Regions from separate parts of the Homo sapiens genome. Here all the other regions are linked to region 1. The links are contacts of gene promoters, found by promoter capture Hi-C in blood cells and fetal thymus (Javierre and others, 2016). All regions are on one chromosome and are shown on one strand. Each heading gives the region's core, a stretch centred on a gene start or on the middle of the fragment in contact. The rest is flanking DNA. Distances are from core to core; before and after follow the strand shown.

Evidence for each region. The method cuts DNA at HindIII sites, captures the fragments that hold promoters and counts their contacts. A CHiCAGO score of 5 or more calls a contact.
Region 2: a fragment that was not itself captured here is called in contact with the fragment with the promoter of CYB5R4 in region 1 in 1 of 17 cell types (naive CD4 T cells); the score reaches 6.3 in naive CD4 T cells.
Region 3: a contact is called between a fragment that was not itself captured here and the fragment with the promoter of CYB5R4 in region 1, in 9 of 17 cell types (total CD8 T cells, naive CD8 T cells, fetal thymus and 6 more). The highest score is 12.0, in total CD8 T cells.
Region 4: a fragment that was not itself captured here is called in contact with the fragment with the promoter of CYB5R4 in region 1 in 1 of 17 cell types (total CD4 T cells); the score reaches 7.2 in total CD4 T cells.
Region 5: a contact is called between a fragment that was not itself captured here and the fragment with the promoter of CYB5R4 in region 1, in 1 of 17 cell types (naive CD8 T cells). The highest score is 7.5, in naive CD8 T cells.
Region 6: a contact is called between a fragment that was not itself captured here and the fragment with the promoter of CYB5R4 in region 1, in 4 of 17 cell types (total CD4 T cells, total CD8 T cells, non-activated CD4 T cells and 1 more). The highest score is 7.2, in total CD4 T cells.
Region 7: the fragment with the promoter of NT5E here is called in contact with the fragment with the promoter of CYB5R4 in region 1 in 2 of 17 cell types (naive CD8 T cells and naive B cells); the score reaches 9.0 in naive CD8 T cells.

Annotation. Positions count from the first base shown.
Region 1 is chr6:83,857,884-83,862,113 of GRCh38, forward strand. CYB5R4 (cytochrome b5 reductase 4) reads left to right here and starts at 1,806. Exons shown (of 16, transcript NM_016230.4): 1 at 1,806-1,974. The coding sequence starts at 1,900. All of the region lies in intron 3 of RIPPLY2-CYB5R4 (RIPPLY2-CYB5R4 readthrough), which reads left to right. RefSeq lists a silencer at 1,877-1,926. The HindIII fragment of the contact is 3,476 bases long and covers 1-3,011 here.
Region 2 is chr6:85,668,261-85,672,490 of GRCh38, forward strand. No RefSeq gene overlaps it. Among named protein-coding and RNA genes, the nearest start is that of SNORD50A, 7.0 kb to the right of the region's middle. RefSeq lists an enhancer at 950-1,471 and a silencer at 3,737-3,937. The HindIII fragment of the contact is 8,939 bases long and covers 1-4,230 here.
Region 3 is chr6:85,644,085-85,648,314 of GRCh38, forward strand. No RefSeq gene overlaps it. Among named protein-coding and RNA genes, the nearest start is that of SYNCRIP, 3.3 kb to the left of the region's middle. The HindIII fragment of the contact is 2,050 bases long and covers 429-2,478 here.
Region 4 is chr6:82,232,474-82,236,703 of GRCh38, forward strand. IBTK (inhibitor of Bruton tyrosine kinase) reads right to left here. Exons shown (of 29, transcript NM_015525.4): 3 at 1,686-1,782. Among named protein-coding and RNA genes, the nearest start is that of IBTK, 13 kb to the right of the region's middle. The HindIII fragment of the contact is 6,415 bases long and covers 1-4,230 here.
Region 5 is chr6:85,465,701-85,469,930 of GRCh38, forward strand. NT5E (5'-nucleotidase ecto) reads left to right here. Exons shown (of 9, transcript NM_002526.4): 2 at 1,360-1,582. Among named protein-coding and RNA genes, the nearest start is that of NT5E, 18 kb to the left of the region's middle. RefSeq lists an enhancer at 44-133. The HindIII fragment of the contact is 5,061 bases long and covers 1-4,230 here.
Region 6 is chr6:82,249,826-82,254,055 of GRCh38, forward strand. No RefSeq gene overlaps it. Among named protein-coding and RNA genes, the nearest start is that of IBTK, 4.2 kb to the left of the region's middle. The HindIII fragment of the contact is 4,001 bases long and covers 1-3,396 here.
Region 7 is chr6:85,447,823-85,452,052 of GRCh38, forward strand. NT5E (5'-nucleotidase ecto) reads left to right here and starts at 2,261. Exons shown (of 9, transcript NM_002526.4): 1 at 2,261-2,656. The coding sequence starts at 2,318. RefSeq lists a silencer at 2,054-2,323. The HindIII fragment of the contact is 6,289 bases long and covers 354-4,230 here.

The DNA.
Region 1 (4,230 bases), core at 556-3,055:
ATTGAAAAAGGGAATCAATCTTAGGGCTTTTAAATTATAGATATTTTAAATAAATGATGAGCAAAGTAACTCATATTTTAATACTCCTCTTCAGTCCTTAAATCCAGTAGTAAAATAGTATGGATGTTTAATACTTAATGTACTACATTGAGGGATCCCTAGAATTAAAACAAAACGTTTAAATTTGAGTGATTGATATGGAGTCTAAAAAAGTGGAGTCTAAAGGCCAGAAGTTGATAGCATCTTCCATTTCTGTACAAAGGGGAGCTAAGAAATTTGGAAAGCATGGAACATTCTTCAACAATATTAACTTTTCCTTGCTCTGGTTCTCTGCTTTTGATATTCTTATGTAAAAGTTTTCTCACGAGAAGTGAAATAAATCTCAGTGATTAGTTTTTCTTGTGTAGACTCTAGAAGAATATGTCATCATTTAATGAGAGAGAACACAGAAGCAATTTGCAAAGTCAAAGTAATACAGTTAATTATAGTCATGAGGTTCTTTTAGCTCAAATTCAGTCTTCTCATAATAAGCATTTCAATTGCAAATAAAAATGGATAGAGGTGAATGTCATAGGTGGCTACCTTATTTGAATGCTTGTATTTGAATGGCCACATATAGTCACACACTTTTTCTTCTGATTCTGCAAACATAACCTTGATTTTTTAGGCACTTTAAGAACTAAGTAGTTAAACAGAGAAAGTTTAAAGCATGACAATATGTTCAGAGTTAGGAAAAATTAGTAATTAAAGGAGGATGGGGAGGATTATTTAGAACTATGTTTCTTCTCCTGAAAACTTTCTCCCTTATTGGATTCTACTCTCAAGATCTATGTGTTCCCCAAGGGACACACAAAACAATCAATCAAACAAACAAAAACCATCAGATTTTGAGCATTAGAGCCTGGTGTTTACCTGCACAGTGTTGGTCCTTTTCCCATTAATATGTTGGAATAGCACAAACAGCCACTGCCACTTATTCAGTACCTAATATTAATCAGGCACTGCAGTATGTAGTTTACACATGATCCTTTAATCTTTAATAAACCCATTATGCAGATGGGGAAAATGAGACTTTGAGATACTAAAGTAACTTGCATAAGACAGCTCAGTCATTAAGTGCAGGGATGGCATGCAAACCAAATCTGACTTTTAAACGTTACTTCATCACCACAGCTGGAGGTGAGCTGCATCAGTACACAATTCCCAGTGAAGACAGGAAGTTACATAAGGAGGGAGAATTTGTGAGTGGGTGAATAGAGCAGAAGGTGACTTTACTAACGTCTTTCGCGCATTCATTAGCCCTCAGCATGCTTAAAGGTGAAGTTTAAGGATGATTAAAGGTGAGGTTTTCTTCTTACCCCACAGTAGTGGCTGTTGACATTTGATATTTTTGCTCTTAAAGGTGTGAGATGCTCTTTGCATTACAGCCTAGTGCCTTACAGGAAAGAATTTCAGAGAAACTAAAATTCGTTTTAGTCCATATTTCAAGTAGTGTGTTTTAGTCCATATTTCAAGTAGTGTGATGGTACTGCTTAACAATGAACAGACATTGCTGTTCCGGGTTAACAGGACTAAGAATTTGTTCCCACATTCGGTCAGCACCAAGGCTAAGGAACAGCTTCACTCTCTAATCTTTCCACGAAATAGCTGTCACCTTGCTCCGGTGCTGAAGTTCGGGATGCGGAACTAGCTGAGCATGCGTACTTCCTCCCTGCCGGCCCTCCCTCCGTCCCGTTGGCTCCGCCCTCCGCGGACGTGCTGCGTCAGAATGCGCCTCACCCCTGGCGACCCCGGAAGTGGGTCGGGGGCTTGGCCTCTGCCCGGCCACAGAGCCGGAGCTGGAGGTGCTGTCCCGTCTGGCGGCGATCCCCGGGCAGGGCCCGGGGCCGGGGTTTGAAGATGCTGAACGTCCCTTCCCAGTCTTTCCCGGCCCCCAGGTCGCAGCAGCGTGTCGCCTCCGGGGGGCGTAGCAAGGTAAGCGGGTGGCTCCGTGAGTCTCTCCCCTCGCTGCGTTTCGAGCTCTGGCAGTGTGTTCTCTTCTTCCGCCCCAACTCCCAGCTCCTGCACCCCTCTCTAAGCTGTCGTTCCCTGCTGTCCTTGCCTGCAACCTCTTTCTGATCCCACTTTGTCTACAGTCCCTAAACTCTCCTTACCTCCTCCCTTTCCCCTAGCAGTCCCTCTTCTTTCTGGTCCTTTATCCCGCTCTATCCGTTCCCTTCCTCCAAGTCCTTTCCCGCGATTTAAATTTATATGACAGAGCCAGGCACTGTGTTTGCGGTATTATAGGCTCTCGGTATTAGCCGCCTTCCCTCAACCTCATCTTCTCCCTGGTCTTTTGTTCTTCACTGCCTGAAGGAGTTGTACCACATCACTCGATGTGGGTTCCCTCGCAGGAGGGAAAGGCTTGGCAGTGGCGACAGTGACCGTCCGTGCAAGGATGGGGACTTCTGGAGTTGGGGAGCTAGGTCAGGTTTACAGACACTATCCAAGACATACTGCCTTTCTTTCTTCCTCTGGTACCTGATTGTTTTGTCATTGCCTTTTCTACTAGTATCACTTGCTAACTTCGAAGCAAATATAATAATACTCTTGAGTTCTTGTTGAGCACAGTTGCTGTTAGCAACAGGTGGAATACTGTACAGATATATTTTATATTTGCAGAATTCAATAAAAATTGTGTTCTTTGTTCTTTTGCGAATGTTGTTTGTTCCTATTTGTTAGTTCCTCATTCTGTAACCATATCTTTATCTTTCGTTTGTGACACTTCCACTTAACTTGGGCCACTCGGTTAACTCTTGAGTCTTAGCATCGTTTGGAACCCTTATCGATTTTCTTATTTTTCTCCACTTAGACCTGGCGTTCTGATTCTAGTTCAGAATGAATATAGGTTCAGGGATCTGTGGTTTTCATTAGCTTTCCAGAGATTTCTTAAGTACTTACGGGTGGCCGTGTATATTCTCAGTGCTTTGCATGTATTAACTTTAATTTTCACAATTATCCTTTGAAGTGAAAGCTTTTATTGTCTCTATTTCGCAGAAAAGGAAACTGGCTAAGAAATATTGCCCTAAATTGCGTAGGCTTGTGTTGTGGTTCTGCTGTGAAATTTCATTTACTGATTCATATATCAATCATCTAGCCATCCAATCATGTATATTTTTCTCATTGGTTTTTGACCTATTTCTTGAAGCTAAATACTTGACTGAATAACAGTCTTTCCAGAAAGAATCTCTGAATTAGAATATGAGTTACTGCCCTTCTTCGTTAAAAATACCAACTGTGTTCTTAGCATCCATTTAAAGGAGAAAACTTAGAAGCAAAGACAAAAAGTCACACAGGGGGCGATGGCAAAGGTGAGTTTTTGGTCCAAAAAGAGAACAAAATAAGATTATTGTGCAATTCTAAGGAAAAGTCAGACTCCAGTCTTCTTCCTCTTTTCTTTGTGAAACAAGATGATGCTGAGAATGTAAAAACTGAGTCAGGTTTGGATGAAATGGGTAGAGGTTGAGAAAATAGAACCAAGTTGGGAAGGTCGTGTATTATACAAAAGGTTCTCAAATAGTGTTGTTTCATTCAACAGCATTTAGTTATAATATTGATGAGAAAAAAAATTCGTTTTGGCCAGGGCCACTGTCTTTGGAGTTTGCATGCTCTGTGTCTGCGTGGGTTTTCTCTGGGTACTCTGGTTTCCTGCTACAGCCCAAAGATATGCAAGTTAGGTTAATTGGTGTGTCTAAATGGTCCCAGTCTGTGTGAATATTGGGTGTGTATGAGTGTGCCTTGCCATAGGATGGCATCCTGTCCAAGGTCGGTTCCTGCCTTGTGCCCTGAGCTACTGGGATAGGCTCTGACTACCTGTGACATTGAACTGGAATAGTTGGGTAAATAATTATCTTACTTGTTTTTTAATTAATCTTTCTTAAATGTATATATAGCTAACATTTCTTTCAGTGTTTAATATTAGAAGTATTTTGGTCTTTATTTAGAAGTCTGGTGATGTTTTTGTGACCAGAAATATGCTGCAGGAAATTTTGTTTGTCAATTAACCCACGGTAAAATTAGTTTCGTTGTACATAGTTTAGTTTCCAAGCACCTAGTGACTAGCTTAAGTGAAGGCTTATTGTAATTTTTTAAAGGCACAGATTTTGAAGTGAGAAAGACCTAGATTCTTTCACCATATCTGCCAGTTAATCTCTTTGAGTCTGTTTCCTCAGATGTAAATGAGAATAACAG
Region 2 (4,230 bases), core at 985-3,484, 1.8 Mb after region 1:
CTGACTGGAATACCCTGAATTTAATCACAAAGAGAACATATGAGAGCACTGTGGAATCATGAAGACATTATATATCTATATGGACAGGTGGGCTACGTTTCTGGCAGCAGGAAACGGCCCTGTTCTGTTACAGCACTAGCCACAACACAATAAAACCAAATTATGAAGAAACACAATATCTTTTGTTAGAAATTAAATCAACTTAAAAAATTCACAGATTAAAAAAATTTTATTCTATAAATTTCAAACATGTACAAAAATAGAGAAAGAGTATAATAAACTCCAAAGAGCCCATCATCCAACATTAACAATTATCAACTTCAGGCTAATCTTGTTTCATCTCTACCCTTCAACCACTTCCTTTGTTTTCTGTATTATTTTGCAACAAATCTCAGACATCAAATCATTTCATCCATAAATAACTCAGTATATTTGTCTAAAAGATACAGCCTCTTGAACAACAAAAAGAGCCACAATGCCATTATCACATCTAACAAAGTCCCAATTATTTTTTAATACATGAAATAGCCTGTGTTTAAACATATATCTCATAAATTCATTTTTTAAAACAATATTGAATGAGAATCCAACTGGGATGCAAACATTGAGAATGTTGATATATCTTTTCAGTTTCTTGATTTGTAGGTTACCCATTCATCTCGTTTGGTTGGTTTCTTTCCTTGCAATTTATTTGTTATAGAAATCATTTGTAGAGTTTTCCATAGTCTGGATTTTGCTGATTGTATCTTTGTAATGTAGTTTAACATATGTCTTTGTAATCTATAAATTAGTAATTATATCCAGAGGCTTTATCAAATTCATATTCATTTTTGTTGTTTTCAGACAAGAGTCTGAAATAGGCAGAGGCAAATTCTTTCTTCAGGGACATATAATATCTTATCACCTCTTTTTTGGATGTTAGCAGTCATTGATATTTATTGCCTATACATTAATTCATTAGAATGTTGCAAAATGATGATCTTCTAATTATGCCAATCTTTTTTCATTGTTAACTGGAATATATCAATAAAGACAAACTTTTTATCACCTTTTATTTGGTTATGTCAGTACAGTTGGTATTGGAAAGTCCCTTTATTTGCAGTTCTGAAACTGATGATTAGCATCCTTTAACACTTATATTAAATTCAGTTTTTTAAAGTATCATTCTGAATTCATAGATTTGAAGACATGTCTTTTTCTCTATTTTTTCTCTATTACACCTCAATAATAGTCAAATTTTCTATCTTTGGAAAGTGAGAGACTCTCCAAGTTTACTCCTGAGTTCCTTTTTTTTTTGAGATGGATCTCCCTCTGTCACCCAGGCTGGAGTGCAGTGGCGAGATCTCAGCTCACTGCAACCTCCGCTTCCCGGGTTCAAGCAATTCTCCTGTCTCAGCCTCCTGAGTAGCTGGGATTACAGGCACCCGTCGCCATGCCCAGCTAATTTTTGTATTTTTAGTAGAGATGGGGTTTCACCACGTTGGCCAGGCTGGTCTCAAACTCCTGACCTGAAGTGATCTGCCTGTTTTGTAATCCTTGCTGGGATTACAGGCGTGAGCCACCGTGCTTGGCCTCCTGAGTTCTTCTAACACAACTCCAGCAGTCTTGCTACCTGTTATAGCAACGTACAACAAGCTCATCTTGTACATTTCCTGTCTCAGATCTGTTTCCTTTTAGTGGTAAGTGGTATTTAGAGGCCACAATCTGGGCCCTAGGGGTAGGGTTCATAGATTTTGATGTGTATGAATCATACTTGGAGTTTCTGTGTTTTCTTTCACAGTGGTTCCCATTTGACTAAGAATGAAATCCTTTCAATGACCCATTAAGCCCTACATAAGCTGCAGGCCTTGCTTCCTTTCTCACTATGCATGCTCCTTCCTATGGGCCACTGCTATGGAAATGCCCTTTTCCCAGATATATGCACAGATCAATCTCTCACCCTCTGTTAGGTGAGAGATTGAGCTATGCACATATCTAAATCTCTGCTTAATTAATCTCAACTTTTCATTGAAGCCTATTCTGTCAACCCCATTTACTTCAATTGCCTCTCAGATGAGAGAATCCCCATTTGAAACTGCAACACTAATTATCTCCCCAAACCCACTCCCAATGTCTCATATTCTATTTTTTCTGTGTCATTTCTCATTTTTTAACATAGCTTATAATTTATTTATTATATAATGTCCTTCTCCTCTTCCTACAATGTAAGCTCCACAAGGGCAGAGGTTTTTGTTTGGTTCACTACTGTATCTTTAGTGCCTAGGATAGTACCTATACATGGTAGGCATTCAGGATATTTGCTCAATGAACAAATGAATGCAAACCTTGGTATATTTCTGAATCATCACACACTTAGTCTATCAGTATGGTTCAATCTCCTGAGGAACAGATTGAATTGAAAGCAAGCAATATCCTTCAAGAAAGTGAGCTACATCAATATGTGGGGACAAGTCCATGAATTTCAAAACTATCCTGACGTTTCTGGGCATGAGGCCAAACTCAGAACAATGTTTGTGTCCCTCCCTCCCTCCTTCCCTCCTTCCCTCTCTTCCTTCCTTTCTCTTTTTCTCTCCCTTCCTCCCTTTCTCTCTCTCTCTCTTTCTTTCTCTTGAGATGGGGTCTTGCTGTGCCTAGGCTGGTCTTCAACTCCTGGGCTCAAGCGATTCTCCTGCCTCAGCCTCCGGAGTAGCTGGGATTACAGGTGTGTACCATCAAGCCAGACTAATTTTTGTATTTTTAGTAGAGATGGGGTTTCACCATGTTGGCCAAGCTGGTCTTGAACTCCTGACCTCAAGTGATAATGCCCGCCTTGGCCTCCCAAAGTGCTGGGATTACAGGCGTGTGCCACCACGCCCGGCTGCTTTTTTTCTTTTTTTTAAGGGCTAGTCAGTGTACATTCACTTTCGAAAAAGAAATGTAACATAAACTCAGAATCTCCATCAGCAATGAAATTCAAGTCAGAATTACGATGTATCTCAAGGAGTACACCTTACTATTGCTCCAGAGTAGTTTACTGTGTTTAATGCTTTATGTTCTCATTGAAGCAATTAAACTAATCAACTATTAGCAACAATTCCCAAACTGTACTTTTGTTATTTATTTTGTTTTTTGAGACGGAGTCTTGCTCTGTCACCCAGGCTGGAGTCCAGTGGCACAATCTTGGCTCACTGCAACATCTGCCTCCTGGGTTCAAGCAATTCTCCTGCTTCAGCCTCCCAAGTAGCTGGGATTACAGGTGCGTGCCACCACACCCGACTAATTTTTGTGTTTTTAGTAGAGACGGGGTTTCACCATGTTGGCCAAGTTGGTCTCGAACTCCTGACCTCAAGTGATCTGCCCACCTTGGCCTCCCAAAGTGCTGGGATTACAGGTGTGAACCACCGTGCCCGGCCTTAATCAACTACTTTTATACAAAAGTACAGGTTAGGGCCGGGTGCGGTGGCTCACGCCTGTAATCCCAACACTTTGGGAGCCTGAGGTGGGCAGATCACGAGGTCAAGAGATCAAGACCATCCTGGCCAACATGGTGAAACCCTGTCTCTACTAAAAATACAAAAATTAGTTGGGCGTAGTGGCATGCGCCTGTAGTCCCAGCTACTCAGGAGGCTGAGGCAGGAGAATCACTTGAACCCGGGAGGCAGAGGTTGCAGTGAGCTGAGATGGCACCACTGCACTCCAGCCTGGCGACAGAGCACGACTCTGTCTTAAAAAAAAAAAAAAAAGTGGTTGATTAAAATTATTTGGTATAGGTGTGGCCACTCACATCAATAATCCCAGCTACTCAGGAGGCTGAGGCAGGAAGACCACTTGAGGTCTGGAGTTCAAGACCAGCTTGGGCTACACAGTGAGCTCTCATTTCACTGCTTAAAAAAAAAAAAAAAAGCATCTTGGTGAGGAGACTCACATTTGTAATCTCAGCACTTTTGGAGGCCAAGGTGGAAGGATCACTTGAGGTCAGGAGTTTAAGAGCAGCCTGGGAAACATAGTGACACCCCATCCCTATAAAAAGTAATACAAATCAGCTGAGCTTGGTGGCACATGCTAGAGGATCTCCTGGTTATTTGGGAGGCTGAGTGGGAGGATCCCTTGAGCCCAAGAGTTCAAGGTGGCAGTGAGCTATGATTAGGCCACTGCATTCCAGCCTGGGTGACAGAGTGAGAACCTGTCTCTAAAATAATTAATGATGATAATAATAATGATGTTATTTGGCCTATATTTTTGTTACTGCTC
Region 3 (4,230 bases), core at 204-2,703, 1.8 Mb after region 1:
CGCGGAAACCCCGGCTGCTTTTGAAGGGGGAACGGGGCTGGCTCCAGTGGAGCGAGGAGCGGCTCCTGCCTTGGGATGACACGAAGGCCAGATTTGGAAGCGAAACCGCCCGGTGGTGAAGGGTTGTGCAATACTCCGTTTCAGTCCCTGGCCTTTTAAGCAGTTAAGGGCTTCCTCCTGGCACAGTTTGAGCAACTTGAAACAGCACAAAGCTGCGTGGTTAGAACAACTTTGAGAAAAATGTCTGTGTTTCTTTTAAAAAAAACCTTGGCAACTAAATCTTCTGTGAAATGACGTTTCCTTTATAATCGTTTACTAGGTACAAGAAAGACAAGACAAAGGCATTTGAATTACAGACGCGATATGGATACTAATTTTATCCAGGGCAGCTGTAATGAAAAATAGAAACAATGTCCTTTTGATTAAAAAGCTTATTTTTAAGAGCTTACTGGTTCCCCAGATGAGCTCTGTGCTATGATAACAAATCAGTGGTTTGAGGAAAAGTTAGATAAACACTCTTCAAAGTGCACAAGCACATAAAATGCTAGATTATTTTCATAGCTACTTGGATCAGATATGAAGTATGTTTTAGCCAAAGCACCACATAGCCAACCTGTTTAGTAAGGATTTGAGATCTCCACCACCCCAGATTCCTTACTATCAAACATATGTGATATTCAGCTGCTTCAGCCATAGGGATTTTTGTTCACAATGCAGAGGTCGTGGTTAATGATATACATGAAAAACAAAATGTTTAATAGAAAACTATGAAAATAAGAGTCATACCATGGATTAAACAAGAATAAAAATTGGCCGGGCGCGGTGGCTCACGCCTGTAATCCCAGCACTTTGGAAGGCCGAGGCGGGCGGATCACAAGGTCAGGAGATCGAGACCATCCTGGCTAACACGGTGAAACCCCGTCTCTACTAAAAATACAAAAAAATTAGCCAGGCGTGGTGGCGGGCGCCTGTAGTCCCAGCTACCCTGGAGGCTGAGGCAGGAGAATGGCGTTAACCCGGGAGGCGGAGCTTGCAGTGAGCGGAGATCGCGCCACTGCACTCCAGCCAGGACGACAGAGCGAGACTCCGTCTCAAAAAAAAAAAGAATAAAAATGAGTCTGAAACATGTAACACTTTGTTTAGACCTTCCTGGGTATTAAAAAAAATTTTTTAAAGTGCCTTAACCTGGGCAAAGCTCCCAAATTAAAATCTCTAGCTGTTCTCTGACATCTAATTCCTTTCTCTAGCCACGCCCTCAATGTTTATGTGGGCTTTCTGGCACTCCAGATGGGCATTTCAAGAAACTGAGCACGTGATCTTCCCCCAGTCTTCCGTCTACAGAGTTCCCATCTCAATTAACATCCCCCACATGAATTGCTGGAGCGGATCATTCAAGGCACTTCCTTCTCTACACTGCCATATCAGTTAATCAAGTCCTATCAATTCTGTCTCCCAAATATATCTCCATTTATCTCTATGTTGCAACCACCCAGGCAAAGCCACCATCATCTACCACCTGTACTAATGGCATAGCCTCCTGATTCATCCACTCTTACAGCTGTCCTAATCTGTTCAAAGCCCAAGTCATCTGTCTTTCTGTATGACTCTCTGTCTCCTGTGTAGGCTCTCTCCCTCCCTTGACCTTCTCTATCTTAATTGCAAGTAAGATCCTATGGCGTGTCTGCTTAAAACCCTTCATTAGCTTCCAATTACACTTAGAACAACAGCCAAAATCCTTAACTAGATCAACAAAGCTCTCTAAGATCTGTCCCACCTGTCTCCCCAGCTCATCTCAGCCACTTTATGGCTTCAGCCTGGCCTTCCCTTGATTCTGGCATTTCTTTTTATTTGAGACGGAGTCTCGCACTGTCGCCCGGGCTGGAATGCAGTACGTGATCTCGGCTCACTGCAACCTCCGCCTCCCAGGTTCAAGTGATTCTCCTTGCCTCAGCCTCCCAAATACCTGGGATTACAGGCGCCCGCCACCATGGCCGGCTAATTCTTTTGTATTTTTAGTAGAGTTGGGAGTTTCACTATGTTTGCCAGGCTGGTCTCGAACTCCTGACCTCATGATCAGCCCGCCTCAGCCTCCCAAAGTGCTGGGATTACAGGCGTGAGCCACTGCGCCAGGGCTCGTTTTTTGGTTTTTTGTTTTTGAGACGGAGTCTCACACTGTTGCCCGGGCTGGAGTGCAGTGGCGGGATCTCAGCACACTGCAACCTCCACCTCCTGGATTCAAGCGAGTCTCCTGCCTCAGCCTCACGAGTAGCTGGGATTACAAGCACCCACCACCACACCAAGCTAATTTTTGTGTTTTTAGTAGAGACAGAGTTTCACCATGTTGGCCAGGCTGGTCTCGAACTCCTGACCTCAGGTAATCCACCCTCCTCGGCCTCCCAAAGTGCTGGGATTACAGGCGTGACCCACTGCTCCCGACAGAGTATTCATTAGTTTCATTGCTGTCTTTTCGTCCATGTAAGCTTTGAAACAGTGAGAAGATGCAGCCCTGTTGAGTTGGCAACTAATGAAAGAGAGGAATGTAGGCAGGCCTGTTTGGATTTTTTACTTATCCAAAATTCTTCCACCCAGTCAATGCCACACTGCCACACTGTTTTTTGTTTGTTTGTTTGTTTTGTTTTGTTTTTTGCATATTTTCTTCTCTTCTTTACTGCATTTTCTAAACTTCCTGCCATTAACATATATTAATTTTATAATGGGCCAGGGAACCCTTCAATTCACAGGGTAAAAATTCACAGCACACCATTACTTTTTCCATAGAACCATAAAAAGCTAGTGTTGAAAGAGACCATGGAAGCCATTCAACCTAATCTTTCTAGTAATCAAGAAAATTTTTGCACTATCTCTCACATCTTTTTTTTTGAGATGGAGTCTTGCTCTGTTGCCCAGGCTAGAGTACGGTGGTGCAATCTCGGCTCACTGCAAGCTCCGCCTCCCAGGTTCACGCCATTCTCCTGCCTCAGCCTCCGGAGTAGCTGGGACTACAGGTGCCCGCCACCACGCCCAGCTAATTTTTTTGTATTTTTAGTAGAGACGGGGTTTCACCGTGTTAGCCAGGATGGTCTCAATCTCCTGACCTCATGATCCGCCCGTCGCAGCCTCCCAAAGTGCTGGGATTATAGGCGTGAGCCACCGCGCCCGGCGGCACTATCTCTCACATCTTATTTTCATAGTAATAAAAAGCCTGCCCTATCAAAAATTAAAAACTTTTGTTCCAAGAAAGACACTGTCTAGAGAATGAAAAGACAAGCCGCAGACTAGGGAAAAAAAATAATCTTTGCAAAACACATATCTGATAAAAGGCTGTTATTCAATAAAATATACAAAGAATTCTTAAAACTCAACAATAAGAAAACACACAACCTAATTGAAAAATTGGCAAAAACGTTGATATCAAGTGTTAGGCAAATAAAAAACAAAAAAAAAATGTTTTGTTTTTTTTGTTTTGTTTTGTTTTGTTTTGAGAAGGAGTCTTGCTCTGTCACCCAGGCTGGCATGCAGTGGCATAATCTTGGCTCACTGCAACCTCCACCTCCTGGGTTCAAGCAATTCTCGTGCCTCAGCCTCCTGAGTAGCTGGGATTACAGGCTTCTGCCACCAGGTCTGGCTAATTTTTGTATTTTCAGTAGAGACAGAGTTTCACCATTTTGGACAGGCTGGTCTAGAACTCCTGACCTCAGTGATCCACCCGCCTCAGCCTCCCAAAATGCTGGGATTAAAAGCATGAGCCACCATGCCTGGCAAAAAAAAAAATTTAATGGGCAAAAAATCTAAACACATAGCCCACCAAAGAGGATGTACAAATGGTAAATAAGCATATGAAAACATGCTGAATATCATATGTCATCAGGGACTTGCAAATTAAAACAGTGAGAAAATAGCCAAGATATGAAATTAACCCAAGTGTTCATTGATGGATGAATGGATAACAGAAAATGTGGTATATATCACAATGGAATATTATTCAGACATAAAAAAGAACGAAATTCTGTCATTTGCAGCAAGATAAATGGAATCTGGAGACCGTTATGCTAAGTGAAATAAGCCAGACACAGAAAGAGAAATATCATATGTTCTCATTCATATGTGGGAGTTTAAAAAGTTCATCTCGTGAAGGTAGAGAACAGAGTGATAGTTACCAAAGTCTGAGGGGAAGGAGGCGTGTTGAAGAGAGGTTCATTAATTGGTACAAACATACAGTTAGATGGAATA
Region 4 (4,230 bases), core at 921-3,420, 1.6 Mb before region 1:
TATAAATCTTCATTTTTATTTTAGAAGATGAATAAAGTCTTAGAATGGAATTATCACTGTTAACCTGCAATGCAGTATCCAGGGTAGAAATAGAAATACAGAATGTGTCCTTACTCAGCTTGCTTACTAGTTAAATGCAAACTATACAGTGCCCCAATTAAATCTTTTCTTTTCTGCCAATTCCCACTTCCAAATCTCAAAGAGCAAACAAACTGGAGGGATAAGTGAAACTGAGAATGTGTGAATAAAAAAATAATTGGAGCCGGGCACAGTGGCTCACGCCTGTAATCCCAGCACTTTGAGAGGCCGAGGAGGGAGGATCACTGGAGTTCAGGAGTTCCAGATTACCCTGGTCAACGTGGCAAAACCTCACCTCTATAAAAAAAGTATAAAAATTGGCCGCACGCAGTGGTTCATGCCTGTAATCCCAGCACTTTGGGAGACCGAGGCAGACGGATCACCTGAGGTCAGGAGTTCGAGACCAACCTGACCAACATGAAGAAACTGCATCTCTACTAAAAATACAAAATTAGCTGGTCATGGTGGCTCATGCCTGTAATCCCAGCTACTCAGGAGGCTGAGAGAAGAGAGCCTCTCAGCTTGAACCCGGGAGGCGGAGGTTGCGGTGAGCCAAGATCGCGCCATTGCACGCCAGCCTGGGCAACAAGAGCGAAACTGTCTCAAAAAAAAAAAAAAAAAAAAAATTAATTGGGCATGGTGGCATGGGTCTATATTCCCAGCTACTTGGAGGGCTGAAGTGAGAGGATGGCTTAAGCTCAGAAGGTTGAAGCTGCAATGAGCCGTGTTCTTGCCACTGCACTCCAGCCTGACTGACAAAGCGAGACCCTATCTCAACAACAACCACAAAAATAATGATAATTTCCAGAGACCCTATCTCAAAAATAACAAAAGGAATAAAAATTTACATTCCTTTTTCCTTCTACCTCAATGCTGATGTTACTTTCTGAGTATATATCAATTACTTTACAGTAGTTACAATTATAACAGTCCTCCCATTTTAGATTGTACTTTTATATAGACATAAATATGGATTGAAATTTTAAAATGCAAAATAAAATTGTTCTGAATATGAAACAAAAAATATCCAACATATACCAAAGTAAAATTTCTTTGCAGATAGCCACACACAAATAAATTTCCCCACTACTTTAAGAAGAATAAAATTTCATTAAAATTTTCTAAGCTAAGCTGCACCTTAATGGAATACATTTGTAAAGTTTTTTTTTTTTTTTTTTTTGAGACGAAGTCTAGCTCTATCACCCAGGCTGGAGTGCAGTGGCAAGATCTCAACTCACTGCAACCTCCACCTCCCAGGTTCAAGCAATACTCCTGCCTCAGCCTCTAAGATTGCCTAGAGGAGCTAGGATTGCCTGTAACTAGGATTGCCTGCTACCATGCCCGGCTAACTTTTGTATTTTTAGTAGAGACGGGGTTGTACCATGTTGGTCAGGCTCGAACTCCTGACCTCAAGTGATCCGCCTGCCTCGGTCTACCAAACTGCTGGGATTACAGGTGTGAGCCGCAGCGCCCAGCCCATTTGTGAAATTTTCTTACCAGTATTCTCGAACTCCTGACCTGAAGTGATCCGCCTGCCTCAGCCTACCAAATTGCTGGGATTACAGGTGTGAGCCGCAGCGCCCAGCCCATTTGTGAAATTTTCTTACCAGTATTCTTGAATACTACATGAGTTGGTCTATCCTTCATTACAAGATCCAAAGCTGACAAGCCTTCTTTATCTTGAATATACAGACTAACACCATGCTAAAACAAACAAACAAACAAATACATAAATATATATATATTATTAATTACCTATATCATCAGTAACTTCCTATTTTATTATTATTTTTTTTTTTTTGAGACAGAATTTCGCTCTTGTTGCCCAGGCTGGAGTGATGCAATGGCGCAATCTTGGCTCACCGCAACCTCCACCTCCCAGGTTCAAGCAATTCTCTTGCCTCAGCCTCCCAAGTAGCTGGGATTACAGGCATCCACCACCACGCCCGGCTAATTTTCTATTTTTAGTAGAGACAGGGTTTCTCCATGTTGGTCAGGATGGTCTCGACCTCTGACCTCAGGTGATCCACCTGCTTTGGCCTCCCAAAGTGCTGGGATTACAGGCTGAGCCACCACACCTGGCCGACTTCCTATTCTTATGTATCAAAAAGTCAGATAATCAACCCCATAAATACACTGAAAAAAAATTTAATAATGATTATCTCTCATATTCACACACATTTTTCTCTCACATACTGCAGAGAATAATTAAGAAAAATCACATATCCGACTCTTGCTGGAATAAGGAAGAATCAGAAAATGTGAAGAAATAAAAAATTAACATTTTAAATAAAAATTAACTACATGTGAACTTTTTTTTGCAGGGGGGACGGAATCTCGCCTTTGTCGCCCAGGCTGGAGTGCAAAGGCACGATCTCAGTTCACAGTAACCTCCGCCTCCCAGGTTCAAACAATTCTCCTGACTCAGCCTCCCGAGTAGCTGGGATTACAGGTGCCCACCACCATACCCGGCTAATTTTTGTATTTTTAGTAGAGATGGGGTTTCACCATGTTGGCCAGGCTGGCCTCGGACTCCTGACCTCGTGATCAGCCCGCCTCAGCCTCCCAAAGTGCTGGGATTACAGGTGTGAGCCACCGTTCCCGGCCATGTGAACATTTTTAACAATAAAGCATTTCTGATACCCCTTTAATACCCCATAAATACACTGTCCCTACAAGTCCCTAGCTCTGGGTTTGTGTCTGTGTGGGAGTGCATCTGAACATAAACATTTAACTCTTCTTGCATTTGAGGAGCCACACTCTGCCGGGCGCAGTGGCTCATGACTATAATCCCAGCACTTTGGGAGGTGGGTGGATGAATCGCCTGAGGTCAGGAGTTCAACGTCAGCCTGGCCAACATGCTGAAACCCCATCTGTAGTAAAAATACAAAAATTAGTCAGGTGTGGTGGTGCATGCCTATAATCCCAGCTACCTGGGAGGCTGAGGCAGAAGAATCACTTGAACCCGGGACACAGAGGTTGCAGTGAACCGAGATCGCGCCACTGCACTCCAGCCTGGGCAACAAGAGTGAAACTCCGTCTCAAAAAAACAAAAAAAAATTATCTGGAGAAGGAGAGACATAAAATTTCAAATCAGTTTATTTAGTTTATACTTACTCTATTTTAGTTTGAGGAATTTTTTCTTATTTATAATTTGACAGTTAATTGTTGATGACCTGTTTATTCTGCGAGGTATCTGATATCCCTTCAATATATTTTGTTTATGTTACCATAGTTGGTTCCAGTTGCAGGCAAAAATAACTCTAATACATCAATATTTATCAAGCATGTTCCTATTTGTTCATTAATTTTTGTTGTTATTGTTTTTTTTGGTTTTTTTGAGACGGAGTCTTGCTCTGTCACCCAGGCTGGAGTGCAATGGCGTGACCTCGGCTCACTGCAACCTCCATCTCCTGGGTTCAAGCGATTCTCCTGCCGCAGCCTCCCCCGTAGCTGGGATTACAGGCATGTGCCACCACGCCCAGCTACTTTTTGTATTTTTAGTAGAGATGAGGTTTTGCCATGTTGCCCAGGCTGGTTTCGAACTCCTGACCTCAGGTGATCTGCCCGCCTTGGCCTCCCAAAGTGCTGGAATTACAGTTGTGAGCCACCATGCCCGGCCATTGTTCATTAATTTAATTGCTTGGTTTTGGTTTTGGTCTATCTCCCCCTAGTAGAATAAAAACTTAAACAAAGAAGGGATTCTGTCTTGTTCACTGCAATATCCCTAGCACCTGGATTACTGCCTGGCACATATCAGGCACTCAAAAAATATTTGTTCCAAATACCTCACAGACAGTATATTATTTAATCCATATAACCTATGATTCTGTGAAGTCTTCTGTTTACAAATGGGAAAAATTAAAGCAAGTTCTTCCAGAATAGTAAGTAAACCACCAGTATAAAAGAGCAATGGTTTAGCAACAACAGATACAGCAGGACTCCACAAGCATAAACAGTCTTTACCAGCCATGCATCCTGTCATGGAATCAAGAAGCCCCAAAAGAGCTACATAAGATAATCTGTCTCTATTCCAGCTTTTTGTAGGCAACAAGTTTCTGCTAAGGTTTTATATCTTTGGCATTAAGAAACTGACAATTTACTGTGCAATTTACAAATGTTATAGCTATGAAGTTTTATCAAATTTAAATT
Region 5 (4,230 bases), core at 537-3,036, 1.6 Mb after region 1:
ACTCAGTGAATGCCTGCGTGCCAAGGAGGGGGACAGCACTGAGCAGGAGAGGTGGCAGGGCCTGGTGGCCCAGGAGCACTCATATAGTCAGGAGACTGATATAAAAGAAAGATCCTGCTAACATGCCATTACAGAGTATGGAATGAGCAAGGAAGGAAGAGGGTGAGGCTGTAAGAGAGTGCACAGGCCCTCATTTAAATGGACGGGTCACCAGCCAGTACTTCATGCCTGTTCCTAGATGACCCACAAAGTGAAACGAAACTGGATGTGGTATTTAGCAAGTCTGAGATTTGCTGGTTTAAGTACTAAGTTAGCAAACCAGCCTTGGCAGCCAGAGCAGGTAGGGTAGGGGGCCCAAGGAGATGGGTGTATCCAGGAGGCCAATGGAGGAAGGAGAGGAAGGTTTTCTGGGAAGCCAGCTGACATGTCATGCTTTGTCAGTGGGGCCTCTGCATGGATTCCCTCCACTCCCCCCCAGCCCCCAACTCACTACGGGGAGCTGCAAAATGACAGACAATGGGTGGTTTTGTACCCAGCAGCCACTCCTCAACCAGTGAGGAATGGGAGAGAGATAAGAAGGTGGGAAACAAGGATTGCTTGTCACCATCCCTGCTCCTCCTGAAGCCCTGCGCTGGGAGCAGGTACAGAACCCGCTGAAGGTCACCTAATCATTTCACCATGGAGTTCTTCCCCAGATGTGAAACTGCTGGGACTGGAGCAAAGGGTGCCCAGAGCTGACTGGAGGAGGAAGCCAGAGCCACACTGGAACATATGGAGATGCTAGCTCCTGCCTGCTATTGAGGAACTTCATTTTCCCAGAAGAATTAGAGGACCACAGGAGTGCTTGGGAAGAAGCAATTGTGGCAACCTAGGTGAATGATGACCTAGGAGGTGAAATGAGGAAGGAGGCCTTTGGTCTCTGCCAACCATACATTTCAGGTTGCCTTTTGCTAAAGTCCTGCTGATGTTAATCATTCTCTCCAGCAGATCGCGGCTTGAATCATGGGGTCTGAAATGTGGGTTTATGAGAGAAAAACAACATGGAAAAATTGGGCAGAGGCTGGTAAATGTGAACATTCAAACCTGCCCCCAATCTGAGATGGTGGGACAGTGGACCCCTGGCCAGCTCTCCAGGTGTTGCGTATGCACATTGGCAAACCACCTTTATTAGGTGGTGTGACACCTGGGTAGCAATTCTCAAGCAATGTGATGATCTGAATGTCCCTGGGCCTGACCCAGGTGAGGAGGACACAAAATCATGCAATATGTCTCATAGAGCTTAGTCAGTTTTGAGAAATACTGGACTAATGTTATGTTTTTAAAGCACCTAATTCTTTTTCTCTTTTCTGTTTTATCTAGGCACTGGGAAATCATGAATTTGATAATGGTGTGGAAGGACTGATCGAGCCACTCCTCAAAGAGGCCAAATTTCCAATTCTGAGTGCAAACATTAAAGCAAAGGGGCCACTAGCATCTCAAATATCAGGACTTTATTTGCCATATAAAGTTCTTCCTGTTGGTGATGAAGTTGTGGGAATCGTTGGATACACTTCCAAAGAAACCCCTTTTCTCTCAAATCCAGGTATTTTCTACTTTTATAGCACTCAATGCTTGAAAATAGATGCCCTAAATCACAGCTTGGCATTATATTTATGGACTGTAGATAAAAGTAGGAACAACTGGGTAAATAGTGCACTAGAATAACACTGATAAAAGCAATCTGGTAAATTCTATGCTGTTGTTCCAAGGTACTTCTTAAAGAGATGTCCTCTTCTGCTCAGTGAACTTCTTTGTTGACAAAAACAGTATCTTTGTCTAATTCAGTGCTTTCAAAATGGGAAGAGGAGACAATGTATAGCCAGTGCTAAACAGTACAGTTTCATTTACTAGAGAATGAGAGCCTCAAAACTCACTGCCCTTCTCCTGTGGAGCCATGAGCACAGAGCCAGAGTTTTACCTCAATTTACCTTATTGCTCCTTTTCTAGGATGATTATTACATGTCCAGCTAACTCACCTTTCTCGCTTTTCATTATTCATCTCGTTTTAATGACATTCTTGTATCTGACTTTCTGGGAAATATATATAGTGGTCTTATGATATATATGGATATATATAAGTGTATGTATATACATTTATAGACATATATACACATATGTATATATAATATATATAATCTTAAGACACACACATACATATATGACACATATACATACATACATATAAGACACACACACATATATAATCTTAAGACCCTTCAAGAAACTATTTTGAGGCACTTTTATAAGAAAACTTTTTGGAATATTTTGGCAATGAGAACAAAAATGACATTTTCTTTAAATTATCCAAATTAAATGTGTTTCCATATTTGAAGAAAAAAAGGGAAAATAGGAGCCAGGGTTATCTAGAAACATGAGTTTTCATTAAGAACTAACTGATAAAGGACATATAATTGACAATTCAAAAATATATATTTACTGTTGTTGTTGTTATAAAATAAATAAGTCCAGGCCATTGGAAACAACAACAGAAAAGTCAGCTGTGTTTGCTGAGAGCAGCAAGCGGGTCCTGCAGCTGGCATAGAGGCAGAGCTGGAGGCAGGGTGGAGCGGCTGGGGCTGGAGTGGTCAGTGAGAAGAGTGAGAGAACTTGCTAAAGAACCCCCCAACCCCACCCTGGGGTCAGGTTTACTTGCTGAAGAACCTCCTTGGTCCCCTTGAGAGCTGTGTAAAACATCCCTGGGGCACAGGACATTCCAGAAGTGAGGTCAGAGTCACAAGCTAGGATGCAGGCTCCATGAGGACAGAAACCTCTGCTGTCTCACTATTGCCCAATGACTGTGCACAGTGCCTGGCATATGATAAGTCCTCAGGAAGCATTGCTGGGATGAATACATGAGAGCAGGAAGGTATAGGGGCCACAGTCACAGAACAGCAGATAGTTCCATTTCCTGGAGCATGGGTTCTGACTAGGAAAAGCTAGAAAGTTGGATCAGGGCTAGATTGTAGGGCTGAGAAGTTCAGGTGTGATTTGGAGGAAAGCATTGTCTCTTCTTTAAAAGGCACCCATAAGGAGGTAGGAGGTGCAGGTCTTGGTGGAAAGGCACAGCAGCTCCAGAAATCAAACTGCCCCAGCTGGGACTCTGACCAGCCCTTTACCAGGCTGTAACAGAGAGGGGATCAAAAGTGACACTGCTGTTTCCAGCAGCTGCTGGAAGAGAGGGCTGCATTTTGCAGGGCCCAGTGTGGGGGGAAAGGGATGGGGTGGAATAGAATGTTTCCAGGAGCACTGCTTCTTCCAAGACTACAGGCCCAGCGGCCTGGTGTGGGTTCTTCCTACAGTTCTTTGACCCTAATCAAGCCCAGTTCTCCCAGTCCTAGTGGCCTGGGCACCCACAGGGTTATAACCTGTATTTCTAGCACATTTAATCTAATTTATTTTAGCTAGATCATTAAATACCTGAAATACAACTCTCCTCATGACATCTTGAAATATAAGCCATGCTTTGTATATATGGGATGCCTGGTCCTGTGAGGTTTCTGATATAATAGAGGAATACATTCCTTTGTCCTCAGAGGCATTTCTCTGAATTTTTTTTCCTTCTTGGCAGCCATACCTTAAGCAAAAGATGGTAGCATACTCTCGACATTTAGTCATTCCCCTGGGTACCTGTCTGTGTGCCAGGCACTGTTTTAGGCACCAGGGATACTGACCAAAAAAAAAAAAGTTGCCCACTGGAGCTTACATATTCAGTGGGGGAATCAATAAATGAGTAAATGGTTTGGTATGTCAGAAGGTGCTAAGGCTGTGGAGAAGAATTAAGCAGGAGGGGAATGGCAAGTGCAGCAGGGGGGAAGGTATACCTTGTTGTTTCAAAGAGATGCTCAAGGAAAGGCTCACATAGAAGGCAACATAGCACTGAGGGTCAACGGGGAGCCCTGGGCTTCTTGGGGCAACCAACAGGAAGCAGATTGTCCTTGATGTTCTCATAATAGACAACAGTGGCAAAACTACAACTCTTGATTTTTCAACATTGCCTATGAGTTACAGACAGCCTTGCCTGTCCAACACATCTGTGAGCTGCTAATTATTAGGTTGTCATTCTGGGGCCTCCCTGGCTATGATGTCAGCCATGAATTATCTTCCATGGTAATTTGCACTTGTGGAGTTGGCTAATGTTAAGGATTCAGGAGTTCCCCTGCTGAAGCACACAGACATTCCTAAACCTCACAG
Region 6 (4,230 bases), core at 146-2,645, 1.6 Mb before region 1:
TCACGCCGCTGCAACGAGTCAAGATAACGCCACTGCACTCCAGCCTAGGCAACCGGAGTGAGATCCTGTCTCAAAAAATAGTAATAAATAAAAGTTAAAATTACCAGGTCTCGGACAATTTGTGGTAAGCATTGGGGATCCAACAGTGAACAAAAATACATGTAGACCCAGATATTCCCAAGCATAATAAATTGCAACGTTTATAAGTATTAATCTGATAGATTTATCTGACTTCCAAAAGATGTGACACATGAACTAAAGACTGAGCAGAAGATAACTCAGATAACTAGATAACGAGGAGATAAGTAGATGAAGCAGGAAAGAAATAACATTCCAGTCAAAGGAATGTAGAATTGCTCCCCTTTTCCCAGGAAAGTTAGATGCTTTCAAAAGTACTTACTGGTTATTTGCAAGACAAAATATTAAAATAATTAGGAAATAGTACAAATGAAATACAATTAAATGAAAAATATATTGTAGATGTGGTTAAGGGAGGAAGAAATCAAAATGAGCCATTTTGTTTGATTTTTAAAAAAATTTTGTGTTTACACATGAAAGAATAGGTCAAAATATATCTACAATGATTGTTTCTATGGTGGGATTATGGGTGATTCTTAATTTCTATCATTTTGACTTTTGTAATTTTCATTGCAATAATTTAAATATTACTTGAATGATTAAAAAAATCAAAGTTTGGAAAAATAATTGACTAGAGTTTCTAAAGTAGTTTTATTTTTTAAAGTAAAAAATAAAAAAACCAGAGATGACTTTAAAAGATTGCAGTGATGGGCCAGGCACAGTGGCTCATGCCTGTAATCCCAGGAGGCCGAGGCAGGCAGATCACGAGGTCAGCAGATCGAGACCATCCTGGCTAACACGGTGAAACCCCATCTCTACTAAAGAATACAAAAAAAATTAGCCGGGCGCAGTGGCGGGCACCTGTAGTCCCAGCTACTCGGGAGGCTGAGGCAGGAGAATGGCGTGAACCTGGGAGGTGGAGATTGCAGTGGGCCAAGATAGCGCCACTGCACTCCGGCCTGGGTGAAAGAGCGAGACTCTGTCTCAATAAATAAATAAATAAATAAAAAGATTGCAGTGATGGGCGGAGGGAGTAGAAAAAGAATAGTACAGGCATCAAGAGTGGAGCACTGCAGAAATATTTCTAAGCCACATGGCATCTATAATAAACTCCCTAAATACCATTTTTCCAAAATAAATTGGTAGTACTATCCTTTATAATTAAAAGTACTGACATCATTATGTGTATTTTGCTGTCTTTCAAGTTGTATAGGAGTAGGAAATGACAGTGCTGGTGGCAGAAGAGAAAACACTAGAATTTGATTAGAAACCCAAACCTGATTAGGTTCTACAAGAATGATTTTTAGAGGAAGATCAATAGTGCAGCTGGCCTAGAGATGACTGGAACCTTATTGTTTAGCCTCATTCTCTTCTACTCCACACCATCTTCTACAGGACATCACTGGTTGACTACAACTTTCTGGCACACAAATTAAGTACCTCACATAAATCACATATCTCACCTCAGGTTTGCCATTAGGGAAGATAGCACTGAGCCTATTATCTCAAGCACAAAAGTTCTAGGCACCTGACGGACTCATGTCGGCTTGGATTAGGTGAGGAATCAAGGATAACATGATTGACATCCTCTATTAGAGTCATGGTTAAAGCAGAGTGAAGAGTAGTTCCCCAAAAGAAAGCAGGGTGAGGCAGACAAAACAATAGGCCACATAGGGTGTTTGTGTTCTTCTGGATTCAGGTGTATGGTCCCAGCTGCGTTCTTCCTATAGAATCATTATCTTTCCAATCCTTACTTACAGAGGGTCACCTCCCCACATATCTGTGAAGACTTTCCGGATGGCCTTTCCTAGCAATTATTCCCTTTATACTGCTTCTATCACTTAGTCATATAATGTATCACACTGTTTTATTTTTAGATTTGTTAGTTTTACTCCTGGAGACAAGGATTCTAGAGGCAAGGTGCCCAGATATAAAGTTTTACTCCTATGCTTACTATCTGTGAGATGTCAGGCAAGTTACATAAACCCTCTAAGCCTAGTTTCCTCATCTCTGAAATAGGGTTAATAGTATTGCTTTCATAAAGTTCTTAAGAAGTTTAAATGAGATTTTATATATATATATAATATAATGTATATATTATATATATGAAGCTCTTAGTACAACTCTTAGCAACTTAATTGACATAACCTGAAATGAACTGCCTGGATGAATCTGTTTCCACCAAATTAAAGGGTGGGATGGGGAAACAAAGAATAACCCACAAGGTGGCAGTATTTGAATGTAACTTTAGAATCTTATGTTTAAAAGCATAGTCCACCAAAAAAATCTGAAATTCAAGGCAAATACTGGAGAAATTCAAGGTAAATTCAAAGCCTAGATGAAATAAGCAGAACTTTGAGATAAATCAAACTTATAAACTTAACAGGCTTAGTATTCTATTACAATCAGAACACTGAACTCCTAAAAGTCTTCCCTTTACGATGACTGAAAAATGTATCATTTGCCTTTCTCAGCCCATCTTACTGAGAATTGCTCCTATTCCTTTTCTACTTAGCTAAATAATTAAATCTGTGTTGTCACTATTAGAAAGAGAGAGAGAGAAGAAAGAAAAAGAGTGAGTTTGATACATAGTGGTTGGAGCCTTCTCTTCATGCCATAAATCCCTAGGACTGATAGAAAAGACATACTTAGGCCGGGTGTGGGGGCTCACACCTGTAATCCTAGCATTTTGGGAGGCCAAGGCAGGCAGATCACCTAAGGTCAGGAGTTTGAGACCAGCCTGGCCAACATGGTACAACCCCATCTCTATTAAAAATACAAAAATTAGCCGGGCATGGTGGCAGACACCTATAATCCCAGCTACTCGGGAGGTTGAGGCAGGAGAATCACTTCAACCAGGGAGATGGAGGTTGCAATGAGCCAAGATCACACCACTGTACTGCAGCCTGGGCGACAAGAGCAAAACTCTGTCTCAAAAAAAAAAAAAAGAAAAGAAAACATACTTAACATACTTAAACTTATCAGTGCATTGGAAAACAAGAACCTTGGCCATTGAAGGTCCAGAACTTATGAAGAGTCCTTGAAAAGTGGATAAGAGGCTAGATTGGGAAAAAGTAACAGCCTGTGGTGTTGTGATATATATATAGGTTTTCATCCACAGCTCTTGGCTCATAACTCCCATAGCCCTTGTTACAGTCATTTGTTATAAAGTTGGGTATGTTAGACCTCAGGAACAGGCCTCTGACCTTCTCCTGCCCTTCTTCCATAGTTTCCGCACCTTTCTGACTCTGGGTCTTAAGACCCTCCCACGAGAGAGTCCCACCCTATACCCTGCGGGAAGGAATGCTGATGTCCTGAAGCTTCCATAAAAATCCAAGAGGACAGAGTTCATGAGCTTCCAGATAGGTGAACACATGGAAATTCCTGGAGGGTGGCACACACAGGGAGGGCATGGAAACTCCACGTCCCTTCCCTCATACCTCACCCTACGCGTCTCTTCATCTGTATCCTTTGCAATATCCTTTTTAATAAACCAGTAGGCCAGGCGCAGTGGCTCACGTCTGTAATCCCAGCACTTTGGGAGGCCGAGGCAGGCGGATCACCTGATGTCGGGAGTTCGAGACCAGCCTCACCACCATGGAGAAACTCCGTCTCTACTAAAAATACAAAATTAGCCAGGCATGGTGGCAAAAGCCTGTAATCCCAGCTACTCGGGAGGCTGAGGCAGGAGAATCGCTTGAATCCGGGAGGCAGAGGTTGCAATGAGCAGAGATCATGCCATTGCTCTCCAGCCTGGGCAACAAGAGCAAAACTCTGTCTCAAAAAACAAAAACAAAAACAAAAACAAAACAAAAAAACAGTAAATATAATTATTTCCTGAGTTCTTTGAGCCACTCCAGCAAATTAATAGAACTCAAAGAGGGAGTCATGGGAACCCCAACTTGAAGCCAATCAGTCAGGAGTTCCGGAGGTCTGAACTTCTGACTGGTGTAGGGGGATGTCAGAGGTATTTGAACCATAGTGACTCCATCTTGAATAGGGGCTGGGTAAAATGAGGCTGAGATCTGTTGGGCTGCATCCCCAGAAGGTTAGGCAAGAATAGTCACAGGATGAGATAGGAGACTGGCACAAGATACAGGAAGAACCTGCTGATAAAACAGGATGCAGAGTCGGGGAAAAGCGGCTCACGCT
Region 7 (4,230 bases), core at 1,011-3,510, 1.6 Mb after region 1:
ACTTGAATTGCAAGTACTACTACCACTGAAGCAGCAACTCTGTTTCCATTGCTTGGGGAGAAGACCAAAAACACACATTAAACACCTGGAGAAAAAAAGTAAAACCACATTAAAGTGAGATTGTAGGAACTGACCAGAAATTTAGAAAAGAGAAAAACTCACTGCTGTGTGAAGAAGTCAAAGGAACTTCATGTTGACTTGAACAAGAAATTAAAGGAACCCCGGGCCTTGGCCTAAGGACAGACTGGAAATGGTGGTTTGGAGAGAAGAAATGAGGACAAAGGGAATGTGTGAGGAACAGTGGAAGGTAAAGTTGGCTGGATAAAATGAGACTTCAAAATGCCAGTTTGCGAAGCTTGAACTTGGTGCAATAAACAATCAAAGGCCATTTTAGATGTATATGAAAACAAATGGCATGGAAATGATATTGAAGCAGAAATCTGGTAGCATCCCCAGAACAGGAATTTCAGAAACTATTGCAGTGGCTTAGGTTTAAAAGACAAGAAACAACAAATGATCAGTTCCCCAGTGATCAGTGATAGGTCATGTTGATACCGTGTACCCACAGATACCAGGCAATGAGAAAGGCACATAATCTCTGTAGCATTCTTCCTAAACATCCACAGCTTCAGTCCAATCATGAGAAAACATCAGACAAACCCAAACTGAGGGATAGTATACAGAAACCAGTACTGTTCAAAAGTGTCAAGGTTTTTGAAGACAACTGACTGAGAAACTGTCACAGATTAGAGGAGGCTAAGAACACAGGAAAACTAACTGCAATATGGTATCCTGAATTGGGTCCTGGAATAGAAAACGGACATTAGTGGAACAGTTGGTGAAATTAAAATAAAATCAGTAACACAGTTAATAGTTTCGTATCACTGTTAAGTTTTTAGTTTCATTGGTTATATAAGCTGTTAACATAAGGCAATATGGGTGATGGGTATGTGGGAACTCCCTTTATTACCTTTGCAACTTTTCTGTAAGTCTAAAATCATTCTTTTTTTAAGTTAAAACAGCAAAACTACCAGTTCTTTTACCTGCTTCTAGCAGGTGCTCAAAGAGGGACAGAGCAAAACCTTGCAAAGCATGACATTAGAGGGTGTCCCAGAAGCAAGGGTCTTCTGTAGCCCCAGGCACTGCTGCTCCCAAACTGCATGGCCTTTCTTGGCAAATGATTTACAATCTCCGAACCTCAGGTCAATGTCTTAAAAACGGGCACAGAATGTCTTTTCAACAAATGGTACTAAGAAAACTGGATATCCACATGAAAAAGAGTAAATGTGGACTCATACCACATATGAAAATTAACTCAAAATGGATTAAAGGTCTAAGAGTTTAAATTATAAAACTCTTAGGAGAAAACATAGAGGAAAATCTTCCTAACATTGTATTTGGCTATGACTTCACTGCGACACCGAAAGCACACGCGACAAAATAAAAATAAAATAAAATAAAATAAGACCAGAAAAGCAAAGAAGGGCAGCATCCCTTCCCGTCCTGATAGCTGCCGGATTTTACCCCAATCGTGTTTCTGCTTCCAGGAGCTGTCCGCGCGTCGCCTCTGTTTTATCACTAAGGTTTTAATTGTGAATAAACAAGGAACTGGATTCGAATGATTTCTTAGTTTCTGAGATTTTTTTGTCTAAGCATCGTAGACTTCGTGCGTTCTCAACCCAACAGGAAGCGTCACATCTCAGTGAGCTTCGGCTCTCACAGCCCGAAACTGCAAGGAGCTCCTCTGCCCGGCCTCTCTTTACTCCTCCTCTCTGCCCCTCAGCTCGCTCATCTTTCTTCCCGCCCCCTCTCTTTTCCTTCTTTGGTTCTTTGAAGTGATGAGCTAGCGCAACCACAAACCATACATTCCTTTTGTAGAAAAACCCGTGCCTCGAATGAGGCGAGACTCAGAGAGGACCCAGGCGCGGGGCGGACCCCTCCAATTCCTTCCTCGCGCCCCCGAAAGAGCGGCGCACCAGCAGCCGAACTGCCGGCGCCCAGGCTCCCTGGTCCGGCCGGGATGCGGCCGGTACCCGCTCCCCGCCGGGAACAACCTCTCCACTCTTCCTGCAGGGAGCTGGTGCCAGCCGACAGCCGCGCCAGGGCCGCTCCGGGTACCAGGGTCGGATCGGGTGACGTCGCGAACTTGCGCCTGGCCGCCAAGCCGGCCTCCAGGCTGAAGAAGGACCCGCCCCGGCCTTGACCCGGGCCCCGCCCCTCCAGCCGGGGCACCGAGCCCCGGCCCTAGCTGCTCGCCCCTACTCGCCGGCACTCGCCCGGCTCGCCCGCTTTCGCACCCAGTTCACGCGCCACAGCTATGTGTCCCCGAGCCGCGCGGGCGCCCGCGACGCTACTCCTCGCCCTGGGCGCGGTGCTGTGGCCTGCGGCTGGCGCCTGGGAGCTTACGATTTTGCACACCAACGACGTGCACAGCCGGCTGGAGCAGACCAGCGAGGACTCCAGCAAGTGCGTCAACGCCAGCCGCTGCATGGGTGGCGTGGCTCGGCTCTTCACCAAGGTTCAGCAGATCCGCCGCGCCGAACCCAACGTGCTGCTGCTGGACGCCGGCGACCAGTACCAGGGCACTATCTGGTTCACCGTGTACAAGGGCGCCGAGGTGGCGCACTTCATGAACGCCCTGCGCTACGATGCCATGGTAAGACCCGAGCCCGCGCCCGGGATAGTAGTCCCGGACTGAGAGAGGAGCCGGGCTGGAAAAGCAGCGGATGGCAGAGTGTGGCAAGCCTAGGTCCAGGGCGCGGAGAGATGTGGGGATAAAGTGAGACTCCGGCCAGTGTGCCAGCTGGATGCATAGAAGTCCCTTGGACGATTCGTCTTAAACGGACGTTATTGCGCCCCCACTATGAGATGGGAGTATTTAGAGGAGCAGGACCCAGTCCTGCCTGCGAGGGGCTTAAGGTGGGGTGCGTAGAAGCACTGACAGTTATCCAGAGCTAGGGACTGAATCGGATCCCTCACGCAGCTCTCATTTACTGCTAGATCTTTCAAAGAATGCTTTATCTCAATCTAGATCTTTCGAAAAATGCTTTATCTCAATCTTATTGAAAGGGAAACCGCGTCGAAGAAGCTGAATAAATTAACAGGCACCATCCCCGCAAAAAGGGAGACGTGATAAGAATGGACACCAGATCTCTTTGACCCCGGAGCTTGAGAGTAATTAAGCTCACAGCTTTGGGGTAGATTCTCTGTTCAATTACCTTCTATGTGACCTTGAGCAAGTTATTTACTCTTTCTTGCCTCAGTTCTATCCTGTATAAAAATAAGGATTATAATTGTACATAGTGCACATAGTGTGGTCTCTATATTATTACCAGACACATAGTGTGGTGTCTATATATGTTGTTATTACCAGACACTATAATATAGGGTTAAGAAAAGGAAAGAAAGAAAGAAAGAGAAAGAAAGAAAGAAACTTCAGAGAGAGCCAAAATGTGGAAAGACTTGGGTTTCAAAGGATTTCAATAAAGTAGGTTTGGCGGCAGAGATTTAGGAAGAGTCCAACTTAAGAGATAATGGGCTCTTAAAACATGTGCAAAAGTTTAGTTCAAAGTCCCAAATGTTAGGTTAAAGGTAATGCCTTTTCTATTGCACTAAATTCTAGAAAGGGAGCAGAGGTGGTTGCACAGTAATAAATAAGTACAACCAAGATGTATATATGGTGGTTAAAAAAAAAATAAAACCACCACCCAAATTTAACCCTGTGTAAAAGCCTTGAGTAAAGGGATTCAGCAAGACTGTGGAGAAACTTGGGAGAAGAAAAAAGAGCTTTGGAAGAGGAAGAACTGAGAAATCTCCAGAGAAACGTCCAGAGAAATCTGTGAAGTCCACAAGTGTGGAAGGGAAAGGGAAGTGTGATTAGGCTGGGATACAGAAGGCTAACAGTACACTTTATATGAGAAGAGCTTAGAGGTCAGGAGAGCACAATGCTGAGGGGTTTGTTTGGTTTTATTTTCCCCTCTGGAAACTTGGAGAAAGGAGGACAGGAAAAGATGATAAGAGGGCACCATTGTTTGGTTTTAAAGGTCCCTCCCCAACCCCCCACAACAAGAAAGCTCATTTTAATGAGATGAGAGAAGGGGAGAAAGCTCCCTCCGTTCTGATGCTTTTGAGCTTATCAGGGACACCCTGCAGCAGAAATTCCAGCTGATCCTTCAGCCTTCAGAGTTGATGAGGTGGGGCTCACACACATCTGGATTTGAAGAAGAATCG